Linked DNA regions of Homo sapiens: all the other regions are linked to region 3. Evidence: promoter capture Hi-C in human tissues and cell types (Jung and others, 2019). All regions are on one chromosome and are shown on one strand. The core of a region is centred on a gene start or on the middle of the fragment in contact, and the rest is flanking DNA. Distances in the headings are between cores, read along the strand shown. Region 1 has its middle 21 kb from the start of CCL22. Region 2 overlaps ADGRG1 (adhesion G protein-coupled receptor G1). Region 3 holds the start of DOK4 (docking protein 4). Region 4 holds the start of TRL-CAG2-1 (tRNA-Leu (anticodon CAG) 2-1).

The links. Contacts are between HindIII fragments. The study calls those that stand out against the background at their distance.
Region 1: a fragment that was not itself captured here is called in contact with the fragment with the promoter of DOK4 in region 3 in 2 of the 25 tissues and cell types used here (lymphoblastoid cells and mesenchymal stem cells).
Region 2: a fragment that was not itself captured here is called in contact with the fragment with the promoter of DOK4 in region 3 in 1 of the 25 tissues and cell types used here (lymphoblastoid cells).
Region 4: a fragment that was not itself captured here is called in contact with the fragment with the promoter of DOK4 in region 3 in 1 of the 25 tissues and cell types used here (lymphoblastoid cells).

Annotation. Positions count from the first base shown.
Region 1 is chr16:57,333,902-57,340,882 of GRCh38, forward strand. No RefSeq gene overlaps it. Among named protein-coding and RNA genes, the nearest start is that of CCL22, 21 kb to the right of the region's middle. The HindIII fragment of the contact is 4,385 bases long and covers 1,723-6,107 here.
Region 2 is chr16:57,638,567-57,644,776 of GRCh38, forward strand. All of the region lies in intron 1 of ADGRG1 (adhesion G protein-coupled receptor G1), which reads left to right. Among named protein-coding and RNA genes, the nearest start is that of ADGRG1, 13 kb to the left of the region's middle. The HindIII fragment of the contact is 4,588 bases long and covers 1,774-6,210 here.
Region 3 is chr16:57,481,793-57,487,742 of GRCh38, forward strand. It overlaps DOK4 (docking protein 4), which reads right to left and starts at 4,701. Exons shown (of 9, transcript NM_018110.5): 1 at 4,513-4,701. RefSeq lists an enhancer at 3,954-4,750 and a silencer at 4,582-4,881. The HindIII fragment of the contact is 12,171 bases long and covers 1-5,950 here.
Region 4 is chr16:57,295,221-57,302,325 of GRCh38, forward strand. TRL-CAG2-1 (tRNA-Leu (anticodon CAG) 2-1) reads left to right here and starts at 4,731; the gene lies at 4,731-4,813. It overlaps TRL-CAG2-2 (tRNA-Leu (anticodon CAG) 2-2), which reads right to left and starts at 5,342; the gene lies at 5,260-5,342. RefSeq lists enhancers at 4,455-4,584, 4,995-5,054 and silencers at 4,705-4,914, 5,205-5,374. The HindIII fragment of the contact is 5,049 bases long and covers 2,104-7,105 here.

The DNA.
Region 1 (6,981 bases), core at 2,665-5,164, 150 kb before region 3:
CCCACCTTGGCCTCCCAAAGTGCTGAGATTACAAGTGTGAGCCAACACGCCCAGCTGACAGCTATTAATCTTATTGAGGATCCTTTGTCTGTGGTGAATGGGTTTTCTCTTGCTGCTCTCAAGATTCTCTCTTTAGCTGTCTTTCCAGGGTTTTATAATGACGTGTCTAGGTGATGATCTCTTTGAATTTATCTTACTTTAAGTTCATTGAGATTCTTTTTTTTTCCTAACCCAATTTCACACTGAGAGATTCTTAAATGTGAGGATTAATGTTGCTCATTAAGTTTGGAAAGCTTTCAGCCATTGTTTTTTCAAATAGTTTTTCTACTGTTTTTTCTCCTTCTGGGACTCCCACTACACATACGTTGGTGTGTTTGATAGCATAACACAGGTCTCTGAGGCTCTGTTCACATTTTTCATTCCCTGCCCTCTACCATTTTATAGACTGGATAATCTTTCTTTCTTTTTATTTTCTTTTCTTTTTTTTGAGATAGAGTCTCACAGTCTCACTATGTTGCCCAGCCTGGAAGGCTGTGTCACAGTCTCGGCTCACTGCAACTTCTGCCTTTGGGGTTCAAGCAATTCTCCCACTTCAGCCTCTGAGTAGCTGGGATTACAGGCATGCACCACCACATGCCCGGCTGTTTTTTGTGTTTTTAGTAGAAATGGGGTTTCACCACGTTGGCCAGACTGGTCTTGAACTCCTGACCTCAGGTGATCTGCCCACCTTGGCCTCCCAAAGTGCTAGCATTACAGGCGTGAGCCACTGCGCCTGGCCGAGACTGAATAATCTTAATTAACCTATCTTCAAGTTCACAAATTATTCCTTCTGCCAGCTCAAAGCTGCTTTAGAGCCCTTCCAGTGAATTTTTTCATTTCAGTTATTATGTTTTTCAACTCCAGAATTTCTGTTTGTTCCTTATTTTACAATTTCTATCTCTTTATTGGTATTCTCTATAGGTGAGACATTGTATATTTTAATTCTTTAGACATGGTTTCTTTTTGTTCATTGAACATATTTATAATAGTTGACTTAAAGCTGTTGTCTCACAGTTCAATGTTTGGGCTTCCTCAGGAGACAGCTTCTATTGACTACTCTCCCTCACCTAATGTATGGGTCATACTTTCCCATTTTTTGACATGTCTCCAAAATTTTTAAATTAAAAACTGGAAATTTAAAATGATACAACATGTTATCAAGCAGGGTCCCACGGAAATAAAAGAAAAAAATAAAATGATGTAACATGGAAACTCTAGCAATCACATTCCACCTTCCCAGTTGCTTGTTATGAACTGAATGTTTGTGTCTCCAAAAATCCATATGTTGAAACTCTAAGCCCCAGTGTGGCTGTATTTGGTGATGGGCCCTCTAAAGAAGTAATTGAGGTTAAATAGGTCATAAGGATGGAGCCTTGATCTGATAGGATTAGTATCCTCATCAGAAGAGATACCAGTCAGCTCGATCTCTTAGTGTCAGCTACACCCGCAATGATGTGTGAGCAGTATCTAGAACATCTTTTTTGCAAAATGGAGCTCTATGCCCATTAAACAGCTCCCCATTCCCTCATCCCCCACAGCCTTTGACAACCACCATTGTACTTCCTGTCTCTGTGAATTTGACTACTCTAGTTACCTCACATGAGGGGAATTATACAGTATTGCCTTTTGAGACTGGCTTATTTTACTTGGCGTAATGTTCTCAAAGTCATCCATGTTGTACGTGTCGTAATTTCCTTCCTTTTTAATGAATAATATTCACTTTGTGTATATGCCACATCTGGTTTATGCATTCATCTGTTGATGGACACTTGGGTTGCTTCCACCTCTTGACTGTTATGAAAAATGCCACAGTGAACATGAATGTGCAGGTATCTGTTCAAGATCCTGCTTTCAATTCTTTTGGATATATACCCCAAAAAGGAATGTCTGGATCACATAGTATTCTACTTTTAATTTTTTCAGGAACCACCATACTGTTTTCCATAGTGGCTATACAATTTTATATTCCCACCAGCGGTGAACAAGAGTTCCAATTCCTCCACATCCTTGCCATCACTTGTTATTTTCTGTCTTTTTTTTTTTAATTAGTCATCCTAATGGGTGTGGGTTGATATTTGTCTTGATTTGCAGTTTCCTAATAAATAATGATGTTTAACGTTTTTTCATCTTGGCCATTTGTCTATCTGCTTTTTTTTTTTTTTTTTTGACGGAGTCTTGCTGTGTTGCCCAGGCTGGAGTGCAGTGGCGTGATCTCGGCTCACTGCAAGCTCCGCCTCCTGGGTTCACGCCATTCTCCCGCCTCAGCCTCCCAAGTAGCTGGAACTACAGGCGCCCGCCACCATGCCCAGCTAATTTTTTGTATTTTTAGTAGAGATGGGGTTTCACCATTCATGGGATGGTCTCGATCTCCTGACCTTGTGATCTGCCTGCCTCAGCCTCCCAAAGTGCTTGGATTACAGGTGTAAGCCACCATGCCTGGCCGGCCATTTGTATATCTTTTTAGGAGAAATACCTATTCAAGTCCTTTGTTCATTTTAAAATTGGGTTATTTGTCTTTTTCTTATTGTGTTGCAGGAGTTCCTCATATATACATATATATATATATACATATATATATATATATGTGTATATATATATGTTTTTTTTTTTTTTTGAGACGGAGTCTCACTCTGTCACCCAGGCTGGAGTGCAGTGGTGCGATCTCAGCTCACTGCTGCCTCTGCCTCCTAGATTTAAGCGATTCTCCTGCCTCAACCTCCCAAGTAGCTGGTATTACAGGTGAACACCACCGCACCTGGCTAATTTTTTGTATTTTTTAGTAGAGATGGGGTTTCACCATGTTGGCTAGGCTGGTCTCTAACTCCTGACTTCAGGTGAACCACCTGCCTTGGCTTCCCAAAGTGCTGGGATTACAGGCGTGAGCCACTGCACCTGGCCGAGTTCCTCATATATTTTGCATATTAACCCTGGATATGTAATTGCAAATATAGTCTCTCATTCTATAGGTTGTCTTTTCACTCTGTTGATTGTGTCATTTGATGCACAGAAGTTTTAGATTTTGATGTAGTTTAATGTATCTATTTTTACTTTTGTTATCTGTGCTTTTGGTATGATTATCCAGAAAATCCTTGCCAAGTCTGATGTCATGAAGCTTTCTTGTATGTTTTCTTCTAAAAGTTTTATAGTTTATTTTTTACATTTAGGTTTTTGATCCATTTTGATTTAATTTTTGTATATGGTGTATAAAGTAAGGATCTTACTTTATTCTTTTGTATGTGGATATTCAGTTCTCCCATATCATTTGTTGAAGAAACTGTCCTTTCTCCATTGTATAGTCTTTTCACTCCTGTCAAAGCTCATTTGACCATATGAACAAGAGTTTATTTCTGGGCTCTGTATTTTGTTCCATCCATTTATATGTCTGTCTTTATACTGGTACCACACTGCTTTGATTACTGTTGCTTTGCAGTATGTTTTATTATTTATTTTTATTTATTATTATTATTTTTTGTAGAGATGGGATCTCACTTTGTTGCCCAGGCTGGCCTCAAACTCCTGGCCTCAAGCATTTCTCCTGCTTTGACCTCTCAAAGTGCTGGGGTTATAAACATGAGCCACCCTGCCTAGCCTGTAGTATGTTTTTAAGTCAGAAAGTGTGATGTTTCCAACTTTGTTTTTCTCTTTCAATATTATTTTGGCAATTTGGGTTCTCTTGAGTTTCCATATAAATTTTAGAATTTTTTTTAAAAATGATGTTGGGATTTTGATAGGGATTGGATTAAATTTGTAGATTGCTTTGGTTACTATTGACATCTTAACAATATTAAGTCTTTTGATCCATGAACATAGGATGTCTTTCCATTTATTTGTGTCTTTGTTTCTTTCAGAAACATTTGTAGTTTTCAACATATAAGCCTTTTATCTTGTTGGTTAGGTTAGGTTTATTCCTACATATTTTATTCTTTTTGATGCTATTGTAAATGGAATTATTTTCTTAATTTTATTTTCAGATTGTTAATTGTTAGTGTGTAGAGATGCAATTGTTGTTTGCTTTTTTTTTTTTTTGACAAGATCTGGCTCTGTCACCCAGGCTGGAGAGCAGTGGTGCGATCTCGACTCACTGCAACCTCTGCCTTCCAGGCTCAAACCATCCTCCTGCCTCAGCCTCCCAAGTAGCTTGGACCACAAGCGTGCACCACCACACTCAGTGAATTCTGGTACTTTTTGTAGGGACAGGGTTTCGCCATATTGCCCAGGCTGTTCTTGAACTTGTGAGCTCAAGTGATCCATCTGCCTTGGCATCCCAAAGTGCTGGGATTACAGGCATAAGCCACCACACCCAGCTGCAATTGACTTTTATGTGACCATTTTGTGTCCTGCAACTTTACTGAATTGTTTGTTAGTTTTAATAGCTTTTTAATGGATGCAATTTTTAGGGTTTGCTGCATATAGGATCATGTCATCTTCAAACAGAGATAATTTTACTTCTTCATTGTCAATATGGATGCCTTTTATTTCTCTTTCTTGCCTAATTGCTCTGGCTAGGATTCCAGTACTATGTTATTAGAAGTGGTGAAAGCAGGCATCCTTACTTATTCCTGGTCTTAGAGAACAAGCTTTCAGTCTTTCACTATCAGGTTTGTTTTAATCTGCACATAACTATGCTTAGGTAGTTTCCTTCTATTCCTAGTTTGTTGTGTATTTCTCCATTGTTTTGGACAAAAGTCATGTGTTAATCTTACTGTCATTTCTGTGTATATGATGGATTTTCTTTTCTGCTTTCAAGTTTTTATTTTCTTCTTTTCAACAGTTTAATTATAACGTGCTCATGTGTGGATCTCTTTGAGTCTATCCTACTTCTGGCTCATTCAGATTCTAGGATGTGTAGATTAATGTTATCATCAAATTTTGGAATTTTTCAGCCATTTTTTTCTTTGAATATTTTTTCTGCCCATTTCTCTATTTTTTCCCTCTTTCTCAGAGTCCTGTTACCTGGATGTTGGTGCATTTGATGATGGGCCAAGGCTTCTTAGTCTCTGTTCATTTTCTTCAGTCTTTTTTCTCTCCATTATTCAGCTTGTATAATCTCTGCTGATCTATCCTCAAGATTGCCAATTCTTTATTTTGTCAGCTCAAATTTGCTTTTAAGCCCCTCCAGGGAAATTTTCATTTTAGACACTATACTTTTCAAATCCAGAATTTCTATTGGTTCTCTTAAAAATAATTTTTCTTGGCAGGGCACGGTGGCTCATGCCTCTAATTCCAGCACTGTAGGAGGCTGAGGCGGGTGGATCACCTGAGGTCAGGTGTTTGAGACTAGCCTGGCCAACATGGAAAAACCCCATTTCTACTAAAAATACAAAACTTAGCAGAACTTATAACAAACTACAAAAACTTATAACAAAACTGCAAAACTGTGAGAAAAAATAATCATTTGAAAACTGGAGATTGATCAAAATTATAAGTAGTAGGTAGAATAATGGGTGACAGAGTGAGATTCTGTCTCAAAAAAAGAAAAAAGAAAAAACTAACACAGTATGTAACAAATTGAGAAGTGTTTACTTTGAAAAGTCTTGAACTTTAATGAGAAAAGAATGAGGGCTTTGTGTGGGTGGGTGGGTGTTTCAGAGCTTCCTCACTCAGTCATTCTGGAAGTCCCATCTATATGTGATACATTCTTACAATGGAATACTGTGGAGGAATGAGAATGAAGTAAAAGGGCAAGCAAAGACATGGCTGAATCTCCTAAACATAATGTTGAATGAAAGGAGTCAGGCACAGGCCAGGTGCAGTGGCTCATGCCTGTAGTCCTAGCTGCTAGGGGAGCTGAGGTGGGAGGATAGCTGAGGTTGAGGCTGAAGCGAACCGTGATCGTGCCACCGGACTCCAGTCTGGGTGACAGAGCGAGACGCTGTCTCAAAAAAAGAGAAGAAGTCAGGCATAAAGGAATGCTTTCTGTATGATTCAGTGTTTCTTTCTGTTCTTTGTTTGTTTGTTTTTTTGAGACAGTGTTTCTCTCTGTCACCCCCCCCGGCTCATTGCAGCCTTGGCCTCCCAGGCTCAAGTGATCCTCCCACCTCAGTCTCTCTAGTAGCTAGGGGCCACAGGCTTGCATCACCATGCCTGGCTAATTTTTGTATTTTTTTTTTTTTTTTTGGAGAGATGGGGCCTCACTACATTGCCTAGGCTGGTCTCGAACTTGGGCTCAGGTAATCCTCCTACCTCAGCTTCCCAAAGTGCTGGGATTAGAGGCATGAGCACCCAGTGCACCCAGTCACTTTTTCTATGATTCAAATAGAAATAACTAGTTTAGGTATTAGGAGCCAGAATGGGCTTTCCTTGGTGGTGGCAGCAGAGGGGTTGTGATGGAAGAGGTCATGAGGGGGTTTCTGGGTTCTTCTTCTTCTTCTTCTTCTTCTTTTTTTTTTTTTTTTTTTTTTTTTTTTGAGACAGAGTCTTGCTCTGTCACCCAGGCTGGAGTGCAGTGGCGTAATCTCTGCTCACTGCAACCTCTGCCTCCCGGATTCAAGCAATTCTCCTGCCTCAGCCTCCCGAGTAGCTGGGACTGCAAGCACCCACCAACACGCCTGGCTAATTTTTGTATCTTTAGTAGAGATGGGGTTTCACCATATTGGCCAGGCTGGTCTCAAACTCCTGACTTTGTGATCCGCCTGCCTCGGCCTCCCAAAGTGCTGGGATTACAGGTGTGAGCCACCATGCCCAGCTCTTGTTCTTCTTCTTCTTTTTTTATTTTTTAACTTTTTATCTTCTAGTAATTTCAAACTTACAGCAAATTTGCAAAAATAGAGTAAAGAAATCCTGTATTTCCTGTATTTCCATCATCCTGATCCACCAACTGTTAACATTTTACCACTTGAGAAAATAATAATTCTTTCCGTACGAGGAGTCCAAGCCCATGTAGATACAGCATCCCTGTGACAGTGACTTCCAGGATCCCACACTAAAAGAAGGGCAAGAGGA
Region 2 (6,210 bases), core at 2,818-5,317, 160 kb after region 3:
CAATCTGAGGAGGCTTCCTGGAGGAGGTGGACCCTAAGGAGTTTTCAGAGAAATATGATGCACACATTGTGCTCACAAAAGCCAGTGGTGGGATTAGAGGGTGTTCAGCTTGTTTTGAGGGCAGGGCCACAGGCTGGCAGCTTCCAGAAGCAAATCCAGCTACTGTTAGGCATAATTTGGTTACTGGGTGGCCTGCACTGGGTTCTAAAAAGATTTGGTTTTGGGCCAGGCGCGGTGGCTCACACCTGTAATCCCAGCACTTTGGGAGGCCGAGGCGGGCATATCATGAGGTCAGGAGTTCGAGACCAGCCTGGCCAGCATAGTGAAACCCCGTCTCTACTAAAAATACAAAAATTAGCCGGGCATGGTGGTGGGCACCTGTAGTCCCAGCTACTCGGGAGGCTGAGGCAGGAGAATCGCTTGAAACTGGAAGGCTGAGGTTGCAGTGAGCTGAGATCACGCCACTGCACTCCAGCCTGGGCGAAAGAGCGAAACTCTGTTTGAGAAAAAAAAAAAAAAGATTTGGTTTTAAAGTCAATGTTGACAAACTTGCAGATTTCATGTAAAAACCTGGGGCTCTGCCTCTCTCGAGAAATTGGAAGCTCTGGCTCTTTGTGGTCCCTTCAAGACAGGCAGGTGTCCCCGGGGCTCCCCATAAATCGCTGTCCTAACCCCTGCCCTCCCTCCTGCCAGCTCCCTGTCTGGCCTGGGCAGCGTCTGAGTTGAGGACTTGGGAACAGGACAAGTTACGGAGCCACGTTGCTTTGCTGGGTCTGAGCCGGGGTGTGACGTAGTCCCTGCAGCTGCCAACGGTTGCCAGGGCAACGGTTGCCAGGGGCTGCTGTCACCTGCGCCCCTTCTCCCGCGCTGGCGGCTGGGGCTTCTCAGCCTCTATTCCCTGGCTGTCCCCTTTGTTTGAAGCTCCAGTGAGGGAGCAGTGGCTGGGGTGGCCCAGCTTCAAAGTCTCTGTCCTCTTGAAAAAAGGTGGTCGGGGGACATTGACCCACCAGCCCCGCAGGCTACTGCCTGCAAACAAGAACCCCTCATCTGCCACGCACGTTCTTAATGTATCTATAGTCTGCCTGATGCCACAAAGGAGTCCAGGTACGATTCTCCCGCCTCCTCTCCCCTCCTCCCCGTCCCTTTCACTCCTGCTCCCTCTCCCTGCTCCCCGCTTCTCCCCTGTCTTCCTCCTTCACTCCCCTTCCCCTCCAGCTCGCCTCCTTCCTCCCCATCCCTTCCCCTTTATCTTTTTCCTCTCCCGTGCATTCCCCTTCTCCCCAGCATTGATGGTGTAGCCAGTGGGTGGGGGTGTGGTGGCACTAGGGACCCTGGGGGGGTCAGATGGTACTCCAAGGGACTTGGGCAGTTTAAGACAGCAGCCTCAACTACAAGGAAATAGTTGGGGGTGAGAGCTCCACACCCGTCCCTGCAGCCCAGCCCTTGCTGAAGATTCTTTTGGGTCCCTGGGCTGCACCCCCGGTGTCAGAAACAAGCCTCTGACAAGTCCAGGGCGTGAGGGGACTGGAAGTGCAGGAAAGAGCCACCAGTGGGGCTGGGATCCAAGGTCACCTGGGTGAGTTCTGATGGGCTCCCTGATTTGGGCCCTTGGGAGGATGGCGTCCAGCTGAACCCATGGAAACACATTGTTGGAAGCTTTCTTTACTGTGACTTTTCAAGAGATGTGCTTTCTAAGAGTCAGGTAAGTTCAGGAGGGAAATAGGCTTGCAGATGGACAGCGTGTGTCCTGGAGCCAGCCCTGGGTTCGCATCCAATCTTCATTACTTGCTAGCTGTGTGACCTCGGGCAGGTAACTTGACCTCCCTGGGCCTCGCTGGCCTTATTTGTTGAGTGGGTGTGATGGTACTTGTCTCAAGGGTTTTGAGGAAGCTTAAATGCGTGAACATGTGTAAAAAGCTCACAATCCTGTCTTGCATTTTCGAAGAGCTTAATGAACATAGTTGTGTCACTGGAGGTGGTGAGCACCCCGCCTGCGGGGTGTGCAACCTCTGATGGTCAGTGATGCTGTGCTGTGTGCTCAGGAGTGGGGATGGAACTCAGTGCTTCTACTTCCCTTCCCTGGACGGGGCCCAGGCACAGTCAGGCTCGGGCCCCCAGCCTTGGTAGGGGAGAACTTTGTTCTTCTCAGCCTACTTAGTAGGGGAGGGTGCTCTCGGCCCCTCAGCCAGTGATCCAGGACCTCGAGGAGGGGGAGGAAAAAAGAAAGGGAGGGTTGGTGGCCAGCCTGGGAATGCTAAGTGTCCTGCGCTCCAAAGATGGGAGTTTGCCAGACCTGGGGTAGTTGAACTGCTAAGCAAGGAGGGAGGTGACTGGGCTGACCTTGCGGGCCTGGCCTTGGGCAACGTGGGAACACAGATAGGGAAGGGGAACCTCAGCCAGACAACTGAGGTCCGGCTGTGGTTTGAGAGGGAAGACAGTCTAGAGGGGTCAGGGGAGACGGTTCAGCATCCTCTTTGTCCCTTGCTACCAGCTTGGAGGTAAGCTCTGTTCTTACCTGTAGGCATCCTGAAGCCTGCGGGAGCCTGGAGGGCCCTGGCTGCAGAGAAGGCAGTCAGGGGACAAACATCAGAGTTGCCCACTTGACAGAGGAGAAAATAAGGCCCAGAGAAGGGACAGGCTGGCCTCAAGATTCCAGTTGGCTGCAGAGCTTGTCTGAACCTTATGCCCCTAACTCCTGCCACCCCTGCTCTAGGCATGTACATTCCCTGGGCAGGTACTGACTGGTGTGTGCCCTGGCGCCCAGGAGGCTGGCCTCAGCTGCTCCTTGGAGATGGCCAGGTGGAGACTTGGCCATGAACCTCTACGTGGCTGCAGACCACCCCAGGAGCATAAGCTGAACAGGCCTGGCACCAGAGTCTTCGGACTGCTGGCTCTTTGGCTCTTTGAGGTCCCTTCAAGACAGGCTGGTGTCCCCAGTGCCTTCCTAATCCCTGTTTCTCCTTTAGGTTCTAAGTCTCTTCAATCAATTCTAAAAGTCCTTTTTTTTTTTTTTTTTTGAGACAGGGTCTCGCTCTGTCACACAGGCTGGAGTGCAGTGGTGTGATCTTGGCTCATCGTAACCTCCACCTCCCGGGTTCAAGTGATTCTCATGCCTCAGCCTCCCGAGTAGCTGGGATTACAGGTGTGTGCCACTATGCCCAGTAATTTTGTTTGTTTGTTTAGAGATAGGGTTTCACTGTGTTGGCCAGACTGGTCTCGAATTCCTGGCCTCAAATGATCTGCCCACCTTGGCTTCCCAAAGTGCTGGGATTACAGGCGTGAGTCGCCGTGCCTGGCCTCCAAAATTCTTCTTTTCTTTTTTTTGTTAATTTGTATTTAGAGACAAGGTCTCACTCTGTCACCCAGGCTTGAGTACTGCGGCATGATCATAGCTCACTGCAGCCTCAAACTCCTGGGCTCAAGCAATTCTCTTGCCTCAGCCTCCCAAGTAGCTGGTACTACAGGCAAGCACTACTACCCCTGGCTTCAATTCCAAAATTCTAAGAGACTTTGATTCTCATCTCCTAAAACTCTTGCATCTTCATATTCTTTCTCTCTCTTTTCCAACATCCTGAGTGTCTTAGCTGCTTGAGATGAAGTCACAGGCCCAGCTGGCCACGGCCAACTTTAATGGAATGGCACACCTGGGACAGGCCTGGCAGTGCCCTTTTCCCCACGAGCTGGTGCTGCCGGCCGAAGGGAGGTGGGATAGGCCTGAATATACCCCAGGCTCACCAGGGACCTCTTTCCTGGAAGTGTCAGGGATGATGATGAGTGGCCCTGGGGAATGCCTAAGTGTCTCCTCTAGCTCATCTCATGCTAGCTAATGACCTTTGGGACAGCTCAAAGGGGAAGGGAGGGGAGGGGGCTGGAGGTGCTGGCAGGCTTCTGTGTGGCGTCAAGATTTCTGAGAGCTTTTTTCCATGTGGATAACAGGTGTCCGTGCAAAAAAGGCTCTACCTTCACGTTGGGTTGGGAAACTGCCCAACCAAGCTTTATGGGTTTCTTTCCTGCAGGACTTATCAGAGCCTTTGATATGCTAATATACAACAGAAAGTATGGCCCACAAGCATTTCTCTAATCTGGGGACTAGTGCTCCCTGAAAGTGCTTTGGCAAGTTACCTCATGGTAAAGATGGGGAGACTGAGTCCCAGAGAAGAGAAAGAACTCAGAAGACCACAATGGCTAAAAGTTTGGGCTTGGAGGTTAGGCGGACCTGAGTTTGAGTCCCGGCTTTTCTGCTTATTTGCTGTGTGATCTTGGGCATTACTTAACCTCTTTGGGCTTCAGTTTCCTAAAGTGGGGACACTGATAGCATTTGCTTCACCAAGTTGCTGCGAGGATTGCATGATTCATGGGCTCTGCTCATAGGGTTACTGTGAGGATTGAACAATTAATTTTTTGCCAAGTGCTTTGCAGGATGCCAGCGGCTAATTGAGCACTTGGTGAGTGGAAGCTGTGATCCTCCCTCTCCTCTTAGAATCTCCCTGGATTCCAGGGCCCTTTTCACTGCACCAGATAAGACCCCTGTTTAGTCCCACTCATCATCTGGTGTCCTGCCAGGCATGGGGACTGGGAGGATGTGGGGGCCTGAGGCCAGGACACTGGGACTCTCACAGACGTGTCACAAGGTTGTCATCACAGGGAGGAGGACCAGTGTGTGCAAAGGCTTGGAGGTGGGAGCATCCAAGGCCAGGCTTCTTCCTGGCTGGATGACTATATGTTGGCTTCTCTGAGGCCTCTTAAGCAAATGCCCAGTTCCGCATATGGGAGGCAGCAGGGCAGCCGGCTTTGGACAACTGACTCTCTGGGAGGACTTGGAGTCCCTTCCTATGAGTGGGTCCTTCCCTCTCAGGCTGGCAGGGAGTGCCCCAACTTCTCCCCTTTGTCACTCTTCCCACAGGGTGTGTCTGGGCAGGCAGAGGGTGTTGTGGCTCAAGCACTTGGTTGGACCAGAAGCCACGGGGACAGTGAGGCCTGAGCTGGCGGTATGGGGGGTGGGGGGTGTCCAGCAGGTCTGGTGTAAGAGTGTGAGGCTCACCCTGGGCAGTGAGTGGGCCAGGCCTGGGCACCTGCCAGCCTCCGAGGCAGGCAGCTTGCTTCATTTTATTCTCCTTTATTGTAGGAAAATTCCTGAAAACTGAAGTCACTCTGCTTCTGCCAGTGATCCTGGAATACCCCTCTTGGGGAGCTCTCTGTGGTCACCTAGCTTGGACTTCCGTCACTCACTTGGGGAGTGGGAATGGGGGAGGGGAGTGGGAATAGGGGAGGAGAGTGCTTCTGCCTTTGCAAGCTGTTATCCCAGGACCCATGGGTGCGGCTGAGGGGTGGGGGGACTGGGCTGGGGGTGGGGCGTAGCCCTGAGTGCCACCTGGGTCTGACAGGGGTGTCTACTTTGAGCTGTTGGGTACATGCTATTTCCAAGTAAGATTTACTTTTATTAAAAAAGTTTGGAAACCGTTGGAGGGAGGGTCCTCTCAGACGCCACGCCACCCACCATGGAGGAAACACCTGCAAGAGCCCTGCTCTTTGCACTGTGCCCCGCCCTCCCTGTCCCCTTCCCAGCTTTGAAGTCTGTTCCTCTGAGGAGCTCCCCGCCTTCTCTTGCTTTCTCCTCCTGGCCCCATGCATCCCTGTGTATGCACGGGCACACGCACTCATGCACACACACTCATGCACACACATGCACAGTCATGCACGGGCACACACACTCATCACACACTCATGCTCAGGCACACACTCATGCACACAAGGACATTCATGCATGGGCACACACACTGATCACACACTCATGCACGGGCACACAGCCATGTGCACACAGACATATGCACACTAATGCATGGGCACACACACTCGTCACACACTCCTCACACATTCATGCACATGCACACACTCATGCACGGGCACACACACCCATGCACACACATATGCACACTCATGCATGGGCACACACACTCATCACACACATGCGCAGGCACACACATGCACACACGGACACTTATGCACAAGCACACACACTGATCACACACTCATGCAAGGGCACACACCCATGCGCACACACATGCACACTCATGCATGGGCACGCACACTCATCACACACTCCTCACACACTCATGCACAAGCACACACATGCACGGGCACACACTGATCACACGCACTGGCACACACTGATCACACGTATGCACGGGCACACACCCATGCACACACACA
Region 3 (5,950 bases), core at 3,451-5,950:
ACTTTAAATGAGGAAATGAATTCATGAGGCACCTGCTTGCCCACTTGGGACACAGAGCTTCTACCCTTTTTCTTTTTCTTTTTCTTTTTTGAGACGGAGTCTCCCTCTGTCGCCCAGGCTGGAGTGCAGCGGCGCGATCTCGGCTCACTGCAACCTCTGCCTCCTGGGTTCACGCCATTCTCCTGCCTCGGCTTCCCGAGTAGCTGGAACTACAGGCTCCCACCACCATGCTCGGCTAATTTTCGGTATTTTTAGTAGAGACGGGGTTTCACCGTGTTAGCCAGGATGGTCTCGATCTCCTGACCTCATGATCCGCCCGCCTCGGCCTCCCAAAGTGCTGGGATTACAGGCGTGAGCCACTGCGCCCGGCCTTCTTTTTCTTCTTTTGAGACAGTGTCCTGCTCTGTCACCCAGGCTGGAGTGCAGGGGTGCCATCACGGCTTACGGCAGCCTCAACCACCCAGGCTCAAGTGATCCACCCACCTCAGCCTCCTGAATAGCTGGGACCGCAGGTACATACCACCATGCCCAGCTAATTTTTAAAAACTTGTTTGTAGAGATGGGGCTTTTGTTTTTTTTTTTTTTTTTTTTTGAGACGGAGTCTCACTCTATTGCCCAGGCTGGAGTGCAGTGGCCCAATCTCGGCTCATTGCAAGCTCCGCCTCCCGGGTTCACGCCATTCTCCTTCCTCAGCCTCCCGAGTAGCTGGGACTACAGGAGCCCACCACCATACCCGGCTAATTGTTTCATATTTTTAGTAAAGACGGGGTTTCACCGTGTTAGCCAGGATGGTCTCGATCTCCTGACCTTGTGATCCACCCGCCTCGGCCTTCCAACGTTCTGGGATTACAGGCGTGAGCCACTGCGCCCGGCCCCTAGAGATGGGTTTTCACCATGTTGCCCAGGCTGGTCTTGAACTCCTGGGGTCAAGTGATCCACAAGGCTCGGCCTCCCTGAGTGCTGAGATTACAGGTGTGAGCAACTGCGCCTGGCCAGAGCTTCTGCCTTGAAAACTCCAAGGGCTGTGTGTATGTATATATATATAGTTTTCTTCAAGAGTTGCTGCCCAGACAGGGCGGTGAAACCACCAGAAGCCAGCCTGCTCCTTCCCAGTGTTGCCCCACCAGGGACTGTGGCCCCAAGCTCGCAGGAGTGCTCCTGCTGCGTCTGTCCATAGGCCCCACCCCGTCCCATACCCCAGGTCCCCAGCGGGAAGAGTGACCTTCACGGGGAAGGCTGGGTGCCAAAGTCCTGCCAGCTCACTCCGGCCCTGAGTCACAGGGACCCCTGGCCACACTTAGTCCCTAATGATGTTTGCAAGAGCAAGACCTAACCTAGGACCCAAAATGGTGGGCAAAGAGGGGTTCGGAAGGGGAGGGAAAGGTCAGGGCCAATAGGTGGACCCACAAATTTGACAGGCAGTGGGGTCAAGTGGTGAGGGGGGGGCCCAGAACCAACCCACCATCCTCCAGAAGGAATGCACTGTGTTAAGCAAGCGAGGCGGCCCCCAAGCTGAGCCTGTGAAGGCCCAATAGGACAGCAAGAAGTGGAGAGCAGACCAGGCACAGTGGCTCACACCTGTAATCCCAACACTTTGGGAGGCCAAAGTGGGAGGATCACTTGGGGCCAGGAGTTCAAGACCAGATCCGGCAACATAGAGAGACCCCGTCTCTACAAAAAATGAAAAAATAAGCTGGGCATGTGGCACGTGCCTGTAGTCACAGCTACTGGGGAGGCCGAGGTGGGAGGATCACTTGAGCTCAGGAATTCCAGGTAGCAGTGAGCTATGATCAAGCCACTGCACTCCAGCCTGGGTGATAGAGTGAGACTGTTTCTAAAAAATTTCAAAAAAATCAATTAAAAAAATACAAAAATTGGAGGGCAGCTGAGGCTAGGCAGGCCAGGAATTGGGTTGAAGTAGCCCCTGCCCTGTTTGTCCCTCAGGCCCTTGTCCCCAACAGGCCTGCAGCAGGAAGAATGCTTGCTACTTTGAGAGGACCTGAGGTCTTGGGTCCTTCCCCAGCACTGTGAGCTCCGAGCTCCCAGCTAAGCACGGTGTCCAGCAGTCGCTCTCAGGGTTCCAGTGAGGGAGGAGGGGAGCAAGGGCCCCCCGCATCCCACCTCCCAGCCTGGTACCAATACTGCTGCTTACCCAGGGACAGTACCTGCCTGGTGCCAGGCCACCACAGGTTTCCGCGCAGGGAGAGCCAGCTCCAAAATGCTCCTCTCCCCAGGAAGGGCTGGTGTCCTGGGGTGGCGGGGAGTAGGGAGACTCCCAGGGCCCTCACTGCCCACCTGCCCCACAGGGCAGCCATGCTGAGCACTCCCTCTCGCACATGGATTCTGCCTGGAGGCTTTGGCTCCAGAACAAACGCGCTGAGGCTGGCAACCAATGACTGAGCGAGCGGCTGCCTGCCTGGCTGGGCCTCCCCACCCCTGACAGATCGGATCTTATCAGGGCTGCAGGAACAGCCCTACCTGGACACCATCTCAGTGTCGTCTGGCTGTCTCGATCCAACGGCGAAGATTGGATCTGTGGGATTCTCTCCAGCACCAGAGCCATTTCCCATCACCTGCTGCTCTGCCCCCACCCCACCCCAAGATTGTTGTCAGAGGCCGGCTGGGAGTGCTCCCAACAGATCCCCATAGGGGCCACCGGCCAAAACATGGTGAGTCCCATCAAGGTGGATGGCAAAGACAGACCAAATACCCATCTAGGCAGACAGGGACGGCAGAAGGAGGGGACATCTGAACAGCCATGGTCCCCCAGACCCTTAAGCCAGGAGAGTAATGCTGTGGCCCCGTACCACTCTGGTTCTCCTGGGTCCCCTGCCCACCCCTCAACATGCCAAAACCCCTCCCTCGAGGGACCACTGCACTAGCTGTTTCCCACCTACAACATTGTTCCCTCACATGCTCATGGTTCATTCCATTGCTTCATCCACCTCCTCCAGGAGGCCTTCCCTGACTACCCTCACCAAAGGACCCCCACTAGTCAGCCTCTCTCACAACATCAGATGCGGCTGTCTTCATCGCACATCACCATGGGATTTTCTTGTTCTTACATCTGTCCATTTGTTTCTGGCCACAGAGAGACATCTGGAATGTCAGCTCCCTGGTGGCTCGGCCTCGTCTGTCTAGTTAACAGCTCTATCCCAGCTCCCAGAATGGTGCCCGGTGGGAAGGAGATGCTCAATATTTGGGGGCTGAACACGTAATTCTCTCCAGGACTTGTCCTCCTCCCCATCCTTTCTTCCACCACCACCAGCCTCCATCTGGCTGGACCTGGCTCAGCTTCCAGAGGTGCGTGAGCCACAGTGGGCTCCCAGCTCCTGGGTCTCAGCGCTGACTGGCATGGCCAGCAGGCTGTTGTTACTGGAGAACCAGCTGTGCCCAAGACCCGCAGTTTGGTTCAGAGCTGCCTCAGGGAAGAGCATGCTGCTGACATCGAGGCCAGGCCTAGTTGGGCGGCCCCACCTTGGCCAGGGTTGTGGGGTGAGGTCATGCCCAGCCCTGCTGCCCTGCCCAGGAGGGAAGTGCTGGGAGTAACCAGTACCAGCACAGCAAGGCAAGCAACTGGGGAGAGGAGGCACAGCTCCTGGGATCAGAGTTGGGGGTGGGGGCAGGAAGAGCCTGTACCAGCGCCACATCCCTCTGAAAGGGTCCAGGAAAGAACCTGCCCTAAGCAAGCCCACCTCACACTGCCCAAGTGGAGTCTCCTAGAGATACTGCCAGGCCCCTCGCTGCCCTGGCCATCAGACCCCTCCAACCCACACCCTCCATCCAAGCGGAAGCGCCCCAGCAACTGACGTGTCCCCATGGCTTGGGGCAGGCAGGCTGCACAGAGCCCCTGCTCTGCCACATCACCCAGGTGCCCAGCCTCGGCTCATGCCCCTTTTCAGTAATAGAAAGCATGTAACTGGATCTAGGGCCTTGCGGGCCCTGGGGGAGAAGGTGGACAGGACCTTGGGGGCCAATGGAGAAAGGTTCAAGGACAGGAGGCAGCTGGCCATGAGTTTGGGCTGTGGGGAGAAACCCCATAGGCAGGAGGGGGTCGGCAGTGGGGGCCAGCTGGGGTACAGAAAATCATCTCTTGGAATTTGGAGGAGGTGAGCGAACAGGAGGCCCCGGGGAGGAGCAGGAAGGCAGAGAGAAGGTTGGGAGCTGCCAGGGGCTGGGTTATGCCCCTTCCGGGGGGGCAGGCCCGGGAGCGCAGGGCCTGGGTTGCTCGGATGAGGTTTGTGTGGGTGCGGGTGAGGTCAGCTCGCGACCTGGGCTCCCCCGGAGAGGAAAGCTGCGGGTGGAGAGAGCGCAGGGAGTTTCAGGGCCCAGGCACTGGCTTTTGGGGGGCGGGTCTCTAAGCTCCCCACCCGAGAGTAGGAAGGTCCCATGGGACGGAGCGTCCTCAGGTTCAGGAAGTGACTGAGGGTCCTCAGGGGTGGGAGTCGCCGAGACTCTTGCAGGCTCTGGGCGGCCTATGTCCCCCTCCCTGCCTCACGCCCCCCAATTTACCTGGGCGCCGAGGCCCGGGCCAGGAGCGCCTGCTCAGCGGCGCCGCGGAGCAGGCTCATGCCCGCGTCACGGCGCGGCTGGCGGGGGCGGCAGGGCGGCGGCGGCGCCGGGCTCCAGGCGGGGACGGCGAGGGAGGCGCGGCCGCAGGGCTAGGGATCGGGCTCCGGCTGGGGCTCCGGCTGGGACTCCGCTCCGCTCCCCCCTCCGCCAGGTCTCGCCGCTGCGCCCCGCCCCCTGCCCCGCCCTGGCGGCCGGCCCCCGCCGTATTCCTCCGAGCCGCGGGACGCGCGATTCTGCCCTGGCGCCCTGGCACCCCCGCACCCGCTTCAGGTCGCCCCCGGTACCCCCAGCTCATTCCCACCGCCCCTCCCTGGGCCCCAAAGCCCACATGGCCTCTCAGCCCCTGAAAGCTGAACTCCACATCAGCTCCCAGCCCCCACATCTCAACCCCTTCACTTCTTCAGGAATCACATACACACCCATACGCCACATCAGCTCCCAGCCCCCATATCTCAATTCCTTCACTTCTTCAGGAATCACATACACACCCATTGCTCCCCTAACCCCATCATGACTCTCTGGGCCCTCACAGCCCAGCTCTCCCAGCCCCACAGTGACCTCCTCTGCTACCCCTCCTCAAGTAGCCGCACCAGCACCTCTGTCTTCCCTGGTCTCCTCTCCACCCTCAAAACATCCAGTTCTCCCATTCTAGGTCCCCCTGAGACTTTGCCCTCAAGCTCAAACTTCATTCCCCTTCATTGCTGCCCCCACCCAGCCCCCAACCCCCTCACCTCTGCCCTTCGGGCCTGTGCAGTGGTTGACTCACTGATCTGTCGGAATCCCCAGTCACAGGCCTCAGCTGTGCCAGGCAGGGACAAGAGAAGTTGCCCAGTGCCTCCTCTGGGGAGGAGCTGTCCCCCCTCTGGTTTTCACGTCTGTACCTTTTTACACCAGGGCTTCTCAAAGTGTAGTCCCTGGACCAGAAGCTTCCCATCACCTTGAAACTTGTTAGAAATGCAAATTCCCTGCCCTACTCAGACCTATGAAATCAGAATTTTTGGGGGTTTCCAGCAGAAATGTGTGTTTTAACAGGCCAGGTGATTCTGATGCACACGAATGTGTGAGAACCACTGCTTTAGACCATATATACAAAACAAAACAATAGGCCACCTGAACAGCCAAAATCCTGAGAAATGAAAATACCTCCACATCCAGCTACTGTCCAGGTGTCTCAGAGGAATAGGCCTAAAGCAGTGAGGGACCAAGGATCCCAACACCCACCCATGGAATGCATGCCCCTGCCCCGGAGACGCCTGGGCCTCAGCCTTGCCCAGGGAGCTTAAAAGGAGGCTGCCTCTGGATGTCTGAAAATTTCCCTGATGGTCATTGTGGTGTCTGTGATCAGCCTGAGCTAACCAGCCCCAGGCCCATGGCCAAG
Region 4 (7,105 bases), core at 3,378-5,877, 190 kb before region 3:
TATTAGCCATTCATATATCTTCTTTGCTGAAGTGTCTCTTTAAAGCTTTTGCCCATTTTAAAATTGGGTTGTCTCCTTATAATTGAGATATAACTGGATGCAAGTGCTTTATCAGATATATCTGATTTTAAAAAATCTTGTGAATATTTTCTCCCAGTCTGTGGCTTGTCTTTTATTTTTTAACAGTGTTTTCGGCTGGACTGTGGCTCACACCTGTAATCCCAGCACTTTGGGAGGCCCAGGTGGGCTGATCGCTTGAGCCCAGGAGTCTGAGATCAGTGTGGCCAACATGGTGAAACCCTGTTTCTACCAAAAAAATACAAAAATTAGCCAGTCATGGTGGTGTTCCTGTAATCTGAGCTACTTGGGAGGCCAAAGTGGGAGGATCACTTGAGCCCAGGAGGCGGAGGTTGCAGTGAGCCGAGATCACGCCACTGCACTCCAACCTGGGTGACAAAGCCAGGCTAATTTTGAAGAGCAAAATTTTTATTATTTTTTTTTTTTATTTTAAAGATAGGGTCTCCTTCTGTCACCCAGGCTGGAGTCCAGTGGCATGACCATAGCTCACTTCAACCTCAAGCTCGTGGGCTCAAATGATCCTCTCACCTCAGCTTCCCAAGTAACTGGGACCCCAGGTGTGAGCCACCTTGCCTGGCTATTTTTTTTTTTTTTAGAGTCGGGTCTCACTATGTTGCCCAGGCTACATTTGTGTCACAACTAATGAGCCAATATTGCTACATTGTTATTAAATACTTATTCAGAGTTCTTCAGTTTTCTCCCAATGTGCTTTTTCTGTTTCCAGGATACCATCTGGGATACCACAGTACATTTAGTCATCCTGTGTCTATAGACTCCACTTGGCTGTGACAGTTTCTCAGACCTTCCTTGTTTTGGATGACCTTGAACATTTTGAGGAGTACTGGTCAGGGTTTTTTTTTTCTTTGTTTTGTTTTGTTTTGAGACAGAGTCTCACTCTGTCACCCAGGCTGGAGTGCAGAGGCGTGATCTCACATCCCTGCAACCTCTGCCTCCCGGGTTCAAGTCATTCTCCTGCCTCAGCCTCCCAAGTAGCTGGGATTACAGGCACGCACCACCATGCCTGGCTAATTTTTGTATTTTTAGTAGAGACAGGGTTTCACGATGTTGGCCAGGCTGGTCTCAAACTCCCGACCTCAGGTGATCCACCTGCCTCAGCCTCCCAAAGTGCTGGGATTACAGGTGTGAGCCACCACACCCGGCCCTGTTCAGGGGTTTTGTAGGATGTTCCTCAATTGCGATTTGTCTGATATTATTTTGTCATGATTAGACTTTGAGTAATGTATTTTTGGAAGGAAGACTACAGAGGTAAATTGCCTCTCAAGGATACCTACTATCAATGGAACCTATCAATGTTGATGTTGACCTTGATCACCTAGTAAGATTGTATTTATGTATTTATTTTTTATTTTTTGAGATGAAGTCTCACTCTGTTGCCCAGGCTGGAGTTCAGTGGCACAATCTTTGCTCACTGCAACCTGTGCCTCCTGGGTTCAAGCAATTCTTCTGCCTCAGCCTCCCGAGTAGCTGGGATTACAGGCACGTGCCACCATGCCTGGCTAATTTTTGTATTTTTAGTCGAGATGGGGTTTCACCATGTTAGCCAGACTGGTCTCGAACTCCTGACCTCAAGTGATCCACCTGCCTCAGCCTCCCAAAGTGCTGGGATTACAGTTGTGAGCCACCGCGCCCGGCCCATTTCTGGTTTCTACTTAGCTTTTTTCACTTAACTCTTTGTCTTGAGATTTTTCCGTGGTATGAACCCTTTTATTTTTTTATTTTTTATTTTTGTAAAGTAGGTTTGTGTTATTTATTTCTTTCATCACACAGTAAATATGGACCAAGCCCTATTATGTGCCAGGCCCTAGCCCCAGGGGTCCGGCTAATCACCAAGCCACAGATGGGGGGTGTTAGGGAGAGCCATTAAAAAAAGGATTACCCAGATAATGTGTTCATTACAGATGTGCTTGGATGGAGATCCAGGGAGCTGGGAGAGTCTGTGCCAGACAACTCGATTTGTAGGGGTGAGCAGGGAAGGCTTCCCGGTGGTGGAAAGATCTGGAGTGTGAGGGTGGCCTTCTTGGTGTTGAACAGAGAGACAAGGCCCTGGCCAGAGCTGCCTCCAGAGAAGCAGAGAGGGGCACAGGTGGGAGAAGTTCTGATCCCTCACTTCCTGGGGTCCCTGAGATCCAGCAACCTGCCTGCCCACCCTTCCCTCTGTCTCATGAGCCAACAAATCTCCCTTTTTTGCCAAAACGAGGGCAAGCTGAGTTTCTGTCTTTTACACCCAAAGAAACCGATGAATGGCGTTACAGTCCCCCAGCGTTTTTGGCACCAGGGACTGGGACTGGTTCTGTGGAAGACTATTTTTCCAGAGGAGGTAGGGGTGGGTTAGGAGGGTGGTTTTGGGATGATTCAAGCACATTATGTTCATAGTGCACTTTATTTCTATTATTATAACATTGTAATAGATAATGACATAATTATACAACTCACCATAATGTAGAATCAGTGGGATCCCTGAGTTTGTTTTCCTGCAACTGGACGGTCCTATCTGGAGGTGATGGGAGATCATCAGGCATTAGATTCTCATAAAGAGTGTGCAGCCTAATCCCTTGCACGCACAGTTCACAATAGGGTTCACGCTGCTATGAGGATCTAATGCTGCCCCTGATCTGACAGGAGGCGGAGCTCAGGCGATAATGCAAGCGATGGGGAGTGGCTGTAGATACAGATGCAGCTTCCTTAGCTTGTGTGTGGCTCACCTCCTGCTATGCCGCCGGTTCCTCACACGTCACAGACCGCTATAGGGGTTAGGGACCCCTGCCCCAACTCCTCCCTTCCTTCCTGTATGGCTGAGAGAGGTGAAGTGATCTACCCAAGGTCACACGGCAGGAATTCAAACGCAGTACTTCTCAACCTGTTCAAGGTTTAGCAGGGGCCTCCGGGATCCACCAGCCACGTTTGTGATGAGGGGGGAGGTGAACTCAGAGCAGTTTTGGGGAGACTGAACAGCGAAGTGGTGGGGAAAGTTGGTTTCAGACCAAAGATATTATAGAAAATTACCCCTGGATGGAATCTTCCAAATCAAATTGTGCTTTAGGGCACTGGTAGAATAATGAGTCTCCTCATCATATCCTAATCTCTGGAACCTGTGGCTCTGTTACTTTAAATGGTTAAAAGAGAGTTTGCAGCTGTGGTTAAATTAAGGCTTTGGGCCGGGCGCATTGGCTCACACCTGTAATCCCAGCACTTTGGGAGGCGGGTGGATCACTTGAGGTCATGAGTTCAAGACCAGTCTGGTCAACATGGCGAAACCCCGTCTCTACTAAAAATACAAAAATTAGCCAGGCATGGTGGTGTGTGCCTGTAGTCCCAGCTACTCAGGAGGCTGAGGATGAGGCAGGAGAATTGCTTGAACCCAGGATTCGGAGGTTGCAGTGAGCCGAGTTCGTGCCACTGCACTCCAGCCTGGGCAACAGAGTGAGACTACTTCTCAAAATAATAACAATAATAATAATAATGGATTTGGAGATGGGGTGATGACCCTGGGTTATCAGACAGGCCCAGTGTAATCACAAGGGTTGTTATAAAGAGGTTAGGCAGGAGGGTCAGAGTCAGAGAAGGTGATGTGAAGACAGAGCAAAGTTTGGAGTGGTGTGGACTGAGGAGCCAAAGAATGTGGGTGGTCTCCAGCAGCTGGAAGAGGAAAGGCAATGGATTCTCCCTTCTGGCCTCCAGACGGAATGTAACCCTGTGACCCATTTTAGACTTATGACCTCCAGAACTGTAAGATAAATAAATGGGATGGTTTTAAGCCACCAAATTTGTAGTTATGTGTTACAGCAGCAATAGAAACTCTTGAATCTCCTTGGCAGCATTTCCACCAAGTGACCATCGATCCTCGTCTTGAATGCCTCCAGCGACAGGGATATCACTACCAATACAGTCACCCTGTTTCCTTTCCAGCAAACTCTTTCTTCTCCCAAACCCATCCTCTGTAACTATTCACCCACTGCACCCCCACCTCGGGCCCCAGTTCTTGGAGCAAAAAGGACAGGCAGACACAATCCCAACCCCTTGTATATCAGGCTTTTGTAGACAGATAATAATTCTCTTCCCCAAGCTTAACAATCTCCAACTTTTTCCCTTGATCAGCTTATTAGAAAGGTCTAAAAGCCAACTCTTTCTGAATGAGGCCCTAGGTAATCATTTGCAGAGTGGGATCTCCCAACCCAAGGCCTCCCGTCCTGAGGAGCGGATGACAAAAACCTTATAGAGCGTCCTCCTTCCAACAATAATTCTCCAAACCCCGCCCCCTACTCCGCCAGTGCCCCATTCACAGCCCGAAACATCCGACCGGTATTAGTAATAGTTCATAATACCACCACTTGAGGCTCAGAGCCTGGGCAGGCAGCTAGAATTTAGCAACGTTATTTCGTTTTCATTGTGTTTATTTCTGTTGATGGTAAGGGAAACTGATTTTCCATTTAAATTATCTGTGTATTCAGTTGAAAGCGCCAGTTTGACCACAGCAGTGAGTCTCGCTGCACCGGATGGGTTTGGTTGTGGATAACCTAAGCTGCAGGCCGGACTCGGAACTGCCCGGGACACCGCCTCTGGGTTCTGAGTCCCGAGCGTCGTTGAAGCATGAGAGGAACTACATCAGACCCCAAAATAGTCTCTCCTAGGAAGTCAGGATGGCCGAGCGGTCTAAGGCGCTGCGTTCAGGTCGCAGTCTCCCCTGGAGGCGTGGGTTCGAATCCCACTTCTGACAAGCGCTCTTTTCCGGTATTTCAGAAGAGAAATCTTCGACGACCGCACACCAAGAGAGGCCCTCAAACACAGAGGACCGTACGTTTTACACACAATCCAAAGTCTAAATGAATGTCTGTGGGGAAGAAAAAGTCTGACAGGACGTGGTCGTGTGATTCTGAACTCCCAACTTCGGAGGAGGTTGAGGCGGGAGGATGTCGCCACCACACTCCAGCTTAGGCGACAGAGCGAGATTCTTTTTTAAAAAAGAAAATGCTCGTTAATAAGAAAATACTCGTTTTGTAAAACAATTAAGATTATGCGAACATATACGCACAAGACATCATAACCTCATTGATCTGTAAAAGAATAAAAAAAGATTATAAGAACATATACACAGAACACATACACACAAGACATCATAACCTCACTGATCTGCGGTGTTGATGAGGAAAAGTAATTGAGCTCTGTCAGAAGTGGGATTCGAACCCACGCCTCCAGGGGAGACTGCGACCTGAACGCAGCGCCTTAGACCGCTCGGCCATCCTGACTGCTTGCAGTGTGTGGCGCATAAAGCCTCTTCACAAGTTCTGCAATATGCGCATGCGTAGTGGGCAGCGAAGACCCACTCCTAGTTGTCCGCCCGGCGTTGGGTGGAGCGAGATACACTCACTTGCTCCAATGGGCGTGGAGAGATGGGACAAGGAAGGTCAGCGCGATGCACCTAGGCGACGCCAGAGGGTGCGCAAGGCCTACTAGAGAAGGCCGAGACCGAAGACTGTTACTTCAATACACATGCATTCGTGCCTCCAGCCTGTATTCATTCTGCATTCATACATGTACTATCATGTCAGCTTTGATTCCTGAAATCTGCAAGCAACCTTGCATTTCCCTTGTGCACAATGCAATCAAGTCCGTATACCTGCACTGATTCGCAGACATTTCCGTGGGCTGGCGCCCAATCTAGGTAAAGCCCAGGTATTGCAAGGCCGCCTGGCACTCTTACCGCGCTCTCCTTCCGAATACTCGCCCCAGCTGCAGCTTCACATTTGTATATGTGTTATAATTCATTTACTCAGGCTCCGGGATAGAACGAGGCCTGCAGCTGCACAGCCAGACCCGCCCTATTCCTATGTCCCCAGTGCCCAAACCGTACCCGGCACACAGTAGGTACGCAGGGAAGATCCCATGGATTCATTCTTCCCTCGCTTCCTCCTTCCTGCATCCCCTCATTTCGTGACTCATCTCTCTTTTCCTGGCCCCCGCGGCATCTTCCTCTCTTCCCTTCCACCCCCTCTAGGCTTACGCACGCCGCGCACAGGCTGTTTCCAGGGACCAGAAGACCTCGGTACCGAGAGGGTGCCCTTCTCCAGAAGGATTTCTAGGATCTCAGGGGGCTGGGCCGCTGACCTGGTGTGTAACAATTACACATTAATTAATGAATTCCCTCATTAATGACTCATATTCCTACAATGGCAGCTGCTGCCCCTCTCTGTACACAGGCACTAGAAGAGAGGGTCCAAGACCCTCGAACATCTCTGAGCCAACTTTGGAGTCCAGGGGTCAGGCCTAGAAGGTGTGAGCAGTGGGGTCACATTAACCTCTTAGTGCCCTCGGACTTGTCTGAGATGGTATCACAGAGCGGCCTCGGCCAGAGAACAGCAGCACTTACCACCCTTGGATTAGATTCCCTTGAGATGCTTGGAGCTTGGGATGCAGCCCCATGGGGGTGGGCAGAGGTCCTGGTTATCTGAAAGACAATGAAATCCTCCTCTTTCCCTGTCCCAAATGTCCTCTCCTCATTGACTGCCAGAATTCTTTCCTTTAGGTTTAGCACTAAACTCTTTTGTGTCCTCTTCTAAAATACAAATTGCCCTGGAAGCTGGAAAGAAAGTCAACAAACATTTATTAAGCACTTGCTATGTGCCACTCTTCTAGATGCTGTGAACAAAACAGAATTTCCACTCTCAAGATACATTCAGGCATGGAGCGAAGGGAGAAGGATAAGAAACAGGTGGACAAATACATCCAGGTGTTGTTAAATGCTGGGTAGAGGATGCATCAAGAAACTCATGAAAGACTTTAAAACAGGCAAAAAAGATAGCTGGATCTGATTCTATAAGGGCTTGCACCTTTCATTACTTTTATGTCCAAATAATTCTTGTCCACAGAAATACAGGTGAATTTTGTTAGGGTAGAATGCAATTGATCATTGCCCTGTGGATATTGACCAATTTTGCAATCTGCTTATAAATTCATTTCAGCATTCCTGATTGCCAATATATGTGTGTCTTTGAATTCTCTTTTGAATTGG